Linked DNA regions of Homo sapiens: regions 2 and 3 are each linked to region 1. The links are contacts of gene promoters, found by promoter capture Hi-C in blood cells and fetal thymus (Javierre and others, 2016). All regions are on one chromosome and are shown on one strand. The core of a region is centred on a gene start or on the middle of the fragment in contact, and the rest is flanking DNA. Distances in the headings are between cores, read along the strand shown. Region 1 holds the start of CDH26 (cadherin 26). Region 2 has its middle 52 kb from the start of CDH4. Region 3 overlaps CDH4 (cadherin 4).

What was found. Contacts are between HindIII fragments. The CHiCAGO score rates a contact against its expected background, and 5 or more counts as called.
Region 2: a fragment that was not itself captured here is called in contact with the fragment with the promoter of CDH26 in region 1 in 1 of 17 cell types (total CD4 T cells); the score reaches 6.2 in total CD4 T cells.
Region 3: a fragment that was not itself captured here is called in contact with the fragment with the promoter of CDH26 in region 1 in 2 of 17 cell types (total CD8 T cells and naive CD8 T cells); the score reaches 5.3 in total CD8 T cells.

The regions. Positions count from the first base shown.
Region 1 is chr20:59,957,095-59,959,794 of GRCh38, forward strand. CDH26 (cadherin 26) reads left to right here and starts at 1,329. Exons shown (of 18, transcript NM_177980.4): 1 at 1,329-1,701. The coding sequence starts at 1,633. The HindIII fragment of the contact is 452 bases long and covers 968-1,419 here.
Region 2 is chr20:61,198,553-61,201,252 of GRCh38, forward strand. No RefSeq gene overlaps it. Among named protein-coding and RNA genes, the nearest start is that of CDH4, 52 kb to the right of the region's middle. The HindIII fragment of the contact is 3,444 bases long and covers 1-2,700 here.
Region 3 is chr20:61,258,393-61,261,092 of GRCh38, forward strand. The region is part of intron 2 of CDH4 (cadherin 4); the gene reads left to right. Among named protein-coding and RNA genes, the nearest start is that of CDH4, 7.5 kb to the left of the region's middle. The HindIII fragment of the contact is 5,359 bases long and covers 1-2,700 here.

The DNA of each region.
Region 1 (2,700 bases), core at 79-2,578:
ATTTGGGTTGGTTCCACGATTTTGCAATTGTGAATTTTGCTGCTATAAACGTGCATGTGCAAGTATCTTTTTCGAATAATGACTTCTTTTCCTCTGGGAAGATACCCAGTAGTGGGATTGCTGGATCAAATGGTAGTTCTACTTTTGTTCTTTAAGGAATCTCCACACTGTTTTCCATAGCAGCTGTACTATGTTATATTCCCCCCAGCAGTGTAGAAGTGTTCCCTGATTGTCACATCCACACCAACGTCTACTGTTTTTTGATTTTTTGATTATGGTCATTCTTGCAGGAGTAAGGTGGTATCGCACTGCGGTTTTGATTTGCGTTTTGCTGATCATTGGTGATGTTGAGCATTTTTTCATATGCTTGTTGACCATTTGTATATCTTCTTTTGAGAATTGTCTATTCATGTCCTTATCCCACTTTTTGATGGGATTGTTTTTTTCTTACTGATTTGTTGGAGTTCATTGTGGATTCTGGATATTAATCCTTTGTCAGATGTATAGATTGTGAAGATTTTCTCCCACTCTGTGGGTTGTCTGTTTACTCTGCTGACTGTTCCTTTTGCAGTGCAAAAGCTCTTTAGTTTAATTAGGTCCCAGCTATTTATCTTTGATTTTATTGCATTTGCTTTTTGGTTCTTGGTCATGAAATCCTTGCCTAAGCCAATATCTAGAACAAGCAAAGAAAGTTTACCTTTTATTTTATCTGTTTACTACTTTAAACAAGGTAATGTGATAAAAAGGTCATGTTAAGGTAATCAGGGTTAATGTATCACAGATTGTGTTTTAAAACTTGCTTACTGCAACCTTAAGTATTGGTATAATATAATCTCAAATTGTCTCTTTCAGAATTCTCATGCAAAGACTCCCGGGTTGCCACAGAGATCCCTGTCCATAGGGAGGCTCTTTCCCATCTCTCCTCCCTCCCACTTTAATTCCAAACTCAAAAAGGCAGATTAATCTAAGCTTAAAAAAGGTTTTAGTAGAAATAATTTGAAAACCCCAGAGCCCTGGGATATTGTTGGAATAACGATTTTTAGTGCTTTGGAAAGTAAAAGTTGATTTTTCTTTTCTTTCATTCTTCCCCATCCCTTCCCCCTTAATAAAGTTATCATTCTTGTCATTTTCTAGTTTTTTTTGTTTGGTTCAAGAGGATAAGATTATAGAAAATAGTCACTAACATATCCTGCTATAGAAAGAGATGATTGGACCTTCTATTTGGAAACCAGAACAAACAAGGAAACAAAGAAACAAATAATTCTGCTTTCCGATAGGTGCTGGTTTTACTTCCGCTGGCTGAGCTGTTGTTCCTGAGGTCAGACCCCAGCCAGTCTTTTGTGTACGTGCAGGACCATGGTGGCTTTAGTTTCTACCCCACCCTTCCTAGGAACTCTACTTGTGGCAAACGTATGTTCAAGCTTACAAGTCAGCCCACCCCACTCTGATAAATGCAAGAAAAGCTGAAAAGGGAGGAGCAAGATGGGATGAAAGCATCTGGGCCAAAGTGACCTGAAAACCTTTAGAGAAGAAGCTGCTGGCTGAGAAGGAGGTGTGTGGCTCCGGTGAGACCACCAGCTTGGAGGACTGGTCATCAGCTGCACGTTCTGGGTCTGTCTTGGGTATTCCCATATGGCCATGAGATCCGGGAGGCACCCCTCGCTGCTGCTGCTTCTAGTGCTGCTGCTGTGGCTGCTGCAGGTAAGCTGAGCCTGCAGCCTAGTGCTCAGGTGCAGGGAACTGAAAGCAAAGCACAAGCTGGCCCTGCCCCTTCTAGGCTAAGGGAGGGGAGAGGGACTGAGTGTGACCTGCTGGGACCCAGGGCTGGCTGTCTTGAGAATGGCTTAGGTAGCAGGGGCTCTGGATTTATATAAAGGGAAGTTAAGGGTCCCAGTCTGTTTGGGGCAACAGTGGGAGCAGGCTAAGGGACCTGTTTAAAACTAATTTATATAGTTCACACTATTTTTAGTGAGATTACATCAACACACACGTGTTTTCTTTCTTTGTTTCTTTCTCCTTTTGTTGAGACAGGGTCTGGCTTCATCATCCAGGCTGGAGTGCAGTGGCATGATCAAGGCTCACTGCAGCTTTAACCTCCCAGGCTCAGGTGATCCTTCCACCTCAGCCTCAAGAGTAGCTGGGACTACAGTAACTTACCACCACGCTGGCTAATTTCTGTATTTTTTATAGAGATGGATTTTCACCATGTTGCCCAGGCTGGTCTCGAACTCCTAAGCTCAAGTGATTTATTCGCCTTGCCCTTCCGAAGTGTTGGGTTTACAGGCATGAGCCACCTCACCCAGCCAACACACACAATTTTTTTTTTTTTTTGAGACAGGGTCTCGTCATCCAGGCTACAGTGCGTGGTGACATCTCAGTGCACCGCAACCTCCTCCTACTGGGTTCAAGCAACCTCCTGGCTCAGCCTCCCGAGTACTGGGACTACAGGTGCACGCCACCATGCCCGGCTAGTTTTTGTATTTTTATTAGAGACAGGGTTTCACCATGTTGGCCAGGCTGGTCTCAAACTCCTGACCTCAAGTGATCTGCCTGCCTCAGCCTCCCAAAGTGTTAGGATGACAGGCTTGAGACACTGCGCCCTGCCAAGTTTTATAATGATACTTCTGTTCACACTTTACATAAGATTGAGGAAATCTCAGTTGTCTGGATCCAAGGCAATTTGAGCAAACCCATGGGGAT
Region 2 (2,700 bases), core at 165-2,664, 1.2 Mb after region 1:
CCATGCACTAGGCTGAAAGCATAGGAAGGTTACCAAGACAATCTTTGAAATCTCTCATGCGTTTGGTCAAATATAAATCAAGATAAAATGGACTTAAAATTATGACTCATGAAAAAAAATGGCTGTCTCCATGTGTAGTATAAAATTAAGGCGTCATTTTGAGCCAGTTCTATAAATTTCTCTAAGTGTACATGCAACTTACTTTATGACTTTTGTAAATTAGTATCTCAATTTTGTCTTCTGTAAAATGAACATAATAGCACCTGCCTCATAGGCTTGGCATGTGCTAAGTCAAGTATCTAAAAACAGTGCTGAGCACATGGCAGGGGCTGTGGCAGCACTGACTGTTGGTGCTCATATTCTTCCTCTCTAAAGTCTGATCCTCTTTTCCACAATATAAGATTACCATCATGTACTCACTCACAAACTCATTCGTTCATTTACTTATCCAATGTTTATTGAGTGCCTTCTGAAAGCTGGTGGCAATGTCTCAGCTAGTTGTGGGGGATGAAGTAGTGAACAAGGGAAACCTCCAAGTCCAGGAGAAGAGAGAGGCATGAAGTGGAGGCATGGACGCTAATGGAACACAAGAAGGGAATCTGCCCAGGGACAGTGGCAGGGAGCTCAAATGTTTGGGAAGCCAACAAAGGCGTACAGCCCTGAGGAGCCAGGACTCTATCTTAGGAAGAGCACTTGGCAACAGAGTGGAGAAGAGCTTGGAGGAAACGCAAGTTCACAGGTGATGGAGCAGTTCTAATGGAAGGTGCTGGTCGTTTTGAAAGGGAGGGAGATATCATTTGGAGAAAAACCAGATATGAGGGTGAAGAAGAAAGAAGAATCAGGAATGGCTCCTAGATTTAGAGCTTGGACATCTGAGTTAACTGGGGAGGCATGGACTGGCTTGGAGAGCAATGGACAAAGAGCAGCTGTGACCTGTAGGGAAGGGTAAAGCCTGCAAGAGGTGATGATTTGGCCATTCTGTGATTAAAAAAAAAAAGATTTAGTGTTTCATGGAAGTCTACCAAAGAATCCTTCCTACAGAAACAAATGTGCTTGAGGCATTTACTGAGTTACTCAAATAGTTGTTACTTACTGGGAGTAACTACCTAAGATAAAACAAAATGGTGGCTGCATAGGTTGTCATGTATGTGAAAATTCCTTTCATATGCACAATTCCACATCGTGATCACCCCCACTCTAGGAAGACTTGGAGAAATCAAGAATGTCAACATTGTGGTTCAACTAGAAGTGGTGAATCACAAATTTGAACCCAGATCTCCCTGATTCTAAGCATTATTGCCATTCTAAGGGCACCTTGGAGGATTCTTGAGAATTTTTTTGCAGAGAAAGGAATCTTCAAGGTAATGGAAAGGTAAGATATCATTTGCAAGTTTTTGGTGTGAGATACAATTGGTAGGTGTTCACAAGTCTTGGCAGTTACCCTCTAACAGTTTCTTAAAAGATGCGCCAGGCAGATAGCCAGATAAGACCAAGTTTCTATGATAAAACTTGAGTACACCGAGAGATGGTAAAATACAGTTCAAACAAAGTGGAGTCCAGGACTTCAGATTTTGAAGTGACAAAGAGATCTGGAAAGGGTACTGCTTCCACCTTTACAATGAGTAAAGAACTGAACAAACTGCAAACCACTGACTTTTCCTGATATCATAAAAGAACTGAAGTTGCAGAGCAAACAAAACGCCCCAAACCTGGGGAGAGACAGATGCTTGCGGAGAAAAAGAAGAACCAAGCATTCATTTACTTGGAGCAGATGTTGCCTGATTCTACATACACTGGTAATAAAATCCAGCTATGAATTCTTAACTAATTGCTTAAAGCCAAGTATGGGAAAGTGTAAAGCCCTAGGACTAGAAGCATGGATGGGGTTTGCGCTGTCTTACAAGCATGCCCACTACTGTGTGCTTACAGCATATGCAACAACAAAAAAAAGTGAAATCCACGACAGCTATGGCACAAAGGATGAGAAAAGGACTTAGAAACATACAGAGGCCCTTGCACTTCATACAAATTAGTATACTATTATTTGAAGAAGACCTTAGATTTTTTAAAGTACATATTATAAATACCAGGGCAAATATTAAAACATCAAGTGAGATAAATAATTAATAGAGGAAGTGAAAAGAAATTATAAAAATAGTCCATCAAATCTAGAGAAGACAACAAGGGGGAATAAACAAATAACAAATGAAACAACTAGACAACAGCTGGCAAGATGGTAGTTTTAATCCAGTTATATTGATAACCATTTTAAATGTGAATGATCTAAACACAGCAGTTAAAAGACAGAGATTGCCAGGTTGAATGAAAAAAAAGACTCAACAATATGCTGTCCACATGACATTTATTTTAAATTTAAAGACATAGAAATATCAAAAGTAGAAGCATGGAGAGTGATAGATCTTGCCAACACAAGCTACAGAAAGCTGGAGCAACTGTAATAATTCCATACAATGCAGAATGTAGAACAAGGAATATTATCAGAGATAAAGAGTGATAATACATAATTATAAAAGAATCAAGTCTCCCACAAGAGACAATACTAACAACACAGCTTTAAAATACGTGAAGCAAAAACTGATTTATTTGAAAGTGACAGCAAAATTTACAGTTACAGCTGGAGCCTTGAATACTTCTCTCTCAGCAATTGGTTTAACAAGAAGGCAAAAATAAGTACAGATA
Region 3 (2,700 bases), core at 194-2,693, 1.3 Mb after region 1:
CGTCCTCAGCAAAGCCTTGCCTCTCCCCGTTTCTCAGTTAGTTTAGGACCATCTTGTGTACCCTCGTACCACCCTCTGCCTCCTTACTGGAGAACTTACATTATCTGGCCAATCATCTCTCTTACTTAAACTCTCTGGTTTCTGAGGGTAAGAGCTCTGTCATTCTTATTTCTATTTATATCATTTCAGGATGTTCTTGGCCAACAGAATAAAACCCAATTCACATAATCTTAAATAAATGGGAGTAAATTTTTCTTACATAACCGTGAGTGCAGACATAGGTGGTCACATGCTGGAACAGCAGACAAGGGACACGGTCATGTGCCTGCCTAATCCTCTTCTTCCATTCTGCCATCTTTAGTGTGTCATTTAGTGCCTCGTCACTGCAAACTGGCTGCTGTGGTTCCAGTCGTTGCTTCTGAGTTCAGAGCAGAAGAAGGTGCAGATAGTAGCACCATCTGCATTTCTTCCCTGTACCAGGAAGACAAACACTTTCTCAGAATCCCTGCAGAAGTTTTCATTGACTAGGTCACAGGCCACTCTTAGCTAAACTGATGGGGGTGGAGCACTGGGAATGCAGAGAATTGCATTGTCATGTGTGTCTTAGATCCATTATAATCCATCACATGGTAGGTGTCCAAATTGCTCGTCTCAGAACAGAATTGGGGCTTTGTTTTAGGAAGGAAGAAGGAGGGATGGATGCTGAGTAGACCTTCCCCAGTGCCCAGTGCTGTACCCGAAGCAGAGTTGACAGACAGTGAATTGCTGAATGAGTGAATGACTCATTTGCATACAAAGGCATTCAGACAGAGGCATGGTTGAAGAGAGATCAGATGCAGTGTCTGGAATCCATATCTAAGAATCTGCCATTTCTGCCACACTGCATGGCCAGAAGTACTATTATCTTGTCTTTACAAGTAGGTTGAAGATAGGCTCTTTGCCCATGCAGTTTGGTTTGAACCACCTCTGCATAGATAGGCAACTCTTCCAGGGCAGACACATGCTAGATACACAGGCAAGAATGTCATCCCATCTCCCTGCATAGCCGATGTCCAGCACCGGCCTAATGCATGGTGGCTGTGAAGTCAGTATTAGTCAAATAAAGTAATGAATGAGCCGGAAAATACTGACACTGTTCGTGTTTCCGAGTCGCTTTGGTTAACTCACAGCAGACAGGGAGCTGCTATGAATATTCCCATAAGTGGCACTAATGATAAGCCAACCACATATGCCTGGAATTATTAGACACTGGAAGTTGCCTGTCCAGTATTGATTCTCTCTCTCTCTCTCCCTTGCCAACAAACCTCATCTGTGCTAGTCCATTGGCTGACAATGTGCCCTGTTTAATACACCTCTAGACTCATTTACACCAATGTGGCAATGTGGCTTCTTTCTGGTCACCGGTATCTAATTAGGTTAGTCTATTAGGTTAGGCTTTGGGGAAAGCTGTTTTTATTCTTGATAACAAGGAACAAACTGAGCTGGCCATGCCTTCCACCCTTTGCTCTTACTTCTTCCTCCTACCTGGAACTCAGATGTGATGGCTGAGGGAAAGCAGCCATTTTGTGAGTTTGAGGATGGTGGAACACAAATTGGGTCCCAGAAGGCATCCTCAAACAATGGCAGAGCCCTGGACTCATTGTCTCCTGAGTGGTGAGAAAAATAAGGTCAAAACACCACGCTTGGTTTTGTTGTCACATGCAGCCTCGTGCATTCCCTGACTTAGGAAAACTGCACACTAGCAAAGTCAAACTCTGTCCTGAGCCTAGGTTTTCAGGCTCCCTCTACCCTCCAGTGTTCCTTGGACCTTGGCCACTTGCTCTTGCTTTAAAGGCCCTCCTCTGCTCCTTTTGTGAATTGATGTCTGCACCTAGCACACTGGATTGCAGAGAGCATGTCATGAATACTTGGTAACTGTTTGTTGAATAAATGAACAGTCACTACTCCACGCTGTCTTATGCCCAGGAGATGAAAGAACCCTTAGATATATTAAGCCGGGACTATCTGAACCCCCACCAGAGAATGTAAACTCTTTGCTGGATCTCATAGTGATGCTTCTCCAGGAAGTCAGGAGTTATGTATTGGGGGTTTTGCCTCTGGTCACAATATCTACTGGTTCTAGGGAACCTTGGTCTCTGTAGCGAAGCAGAATTATGTGAAGGCTGGGTGGGACTCAGACCCCACTGGTGGCTTGGGTGAGCTCAAAGCCCAGACTTTCTTGCTGTCAAAGTCAGAGGACTACTTCTTTCTGAGCACCCAGACCCCCACTGCCTCCATGGGTGGTCACTTCAGGGATCCCCAAAAATGGGCACGCAGAGCCCATGAGGGAGACCGTGGGATCTCTTTGGCCATCTCTGGGGGTGGTCCTTGCCTTTTCAAGGGGCCGTTATTGTTTGAGGTTTCCAGCAGCTTTTCCCTCTTATAGTTTTGTCTGGTCCCAGGGTTAAGAGGTTCAGAAAGGGAAGTATATATCCTGTCTTTAGAAAGTGGTTGCTATCAGATAAAAGGTAGGAGCGGCCCAGGAATAAAGCACAGAAAGCGCTGCATGGTGCATCATCTGCAGGCCAAATCCCACTCTGAGAGAGGGTCCTGGTAGCCCTGGTTAGAAATAAAGCGAGGCAGAACACTGCCGCCCCGGGCTCTGCACAGCCACTTGCCCCTGTGTGCAGCTGCTTCTCACAGCTCTGCCTTCCATCGCAA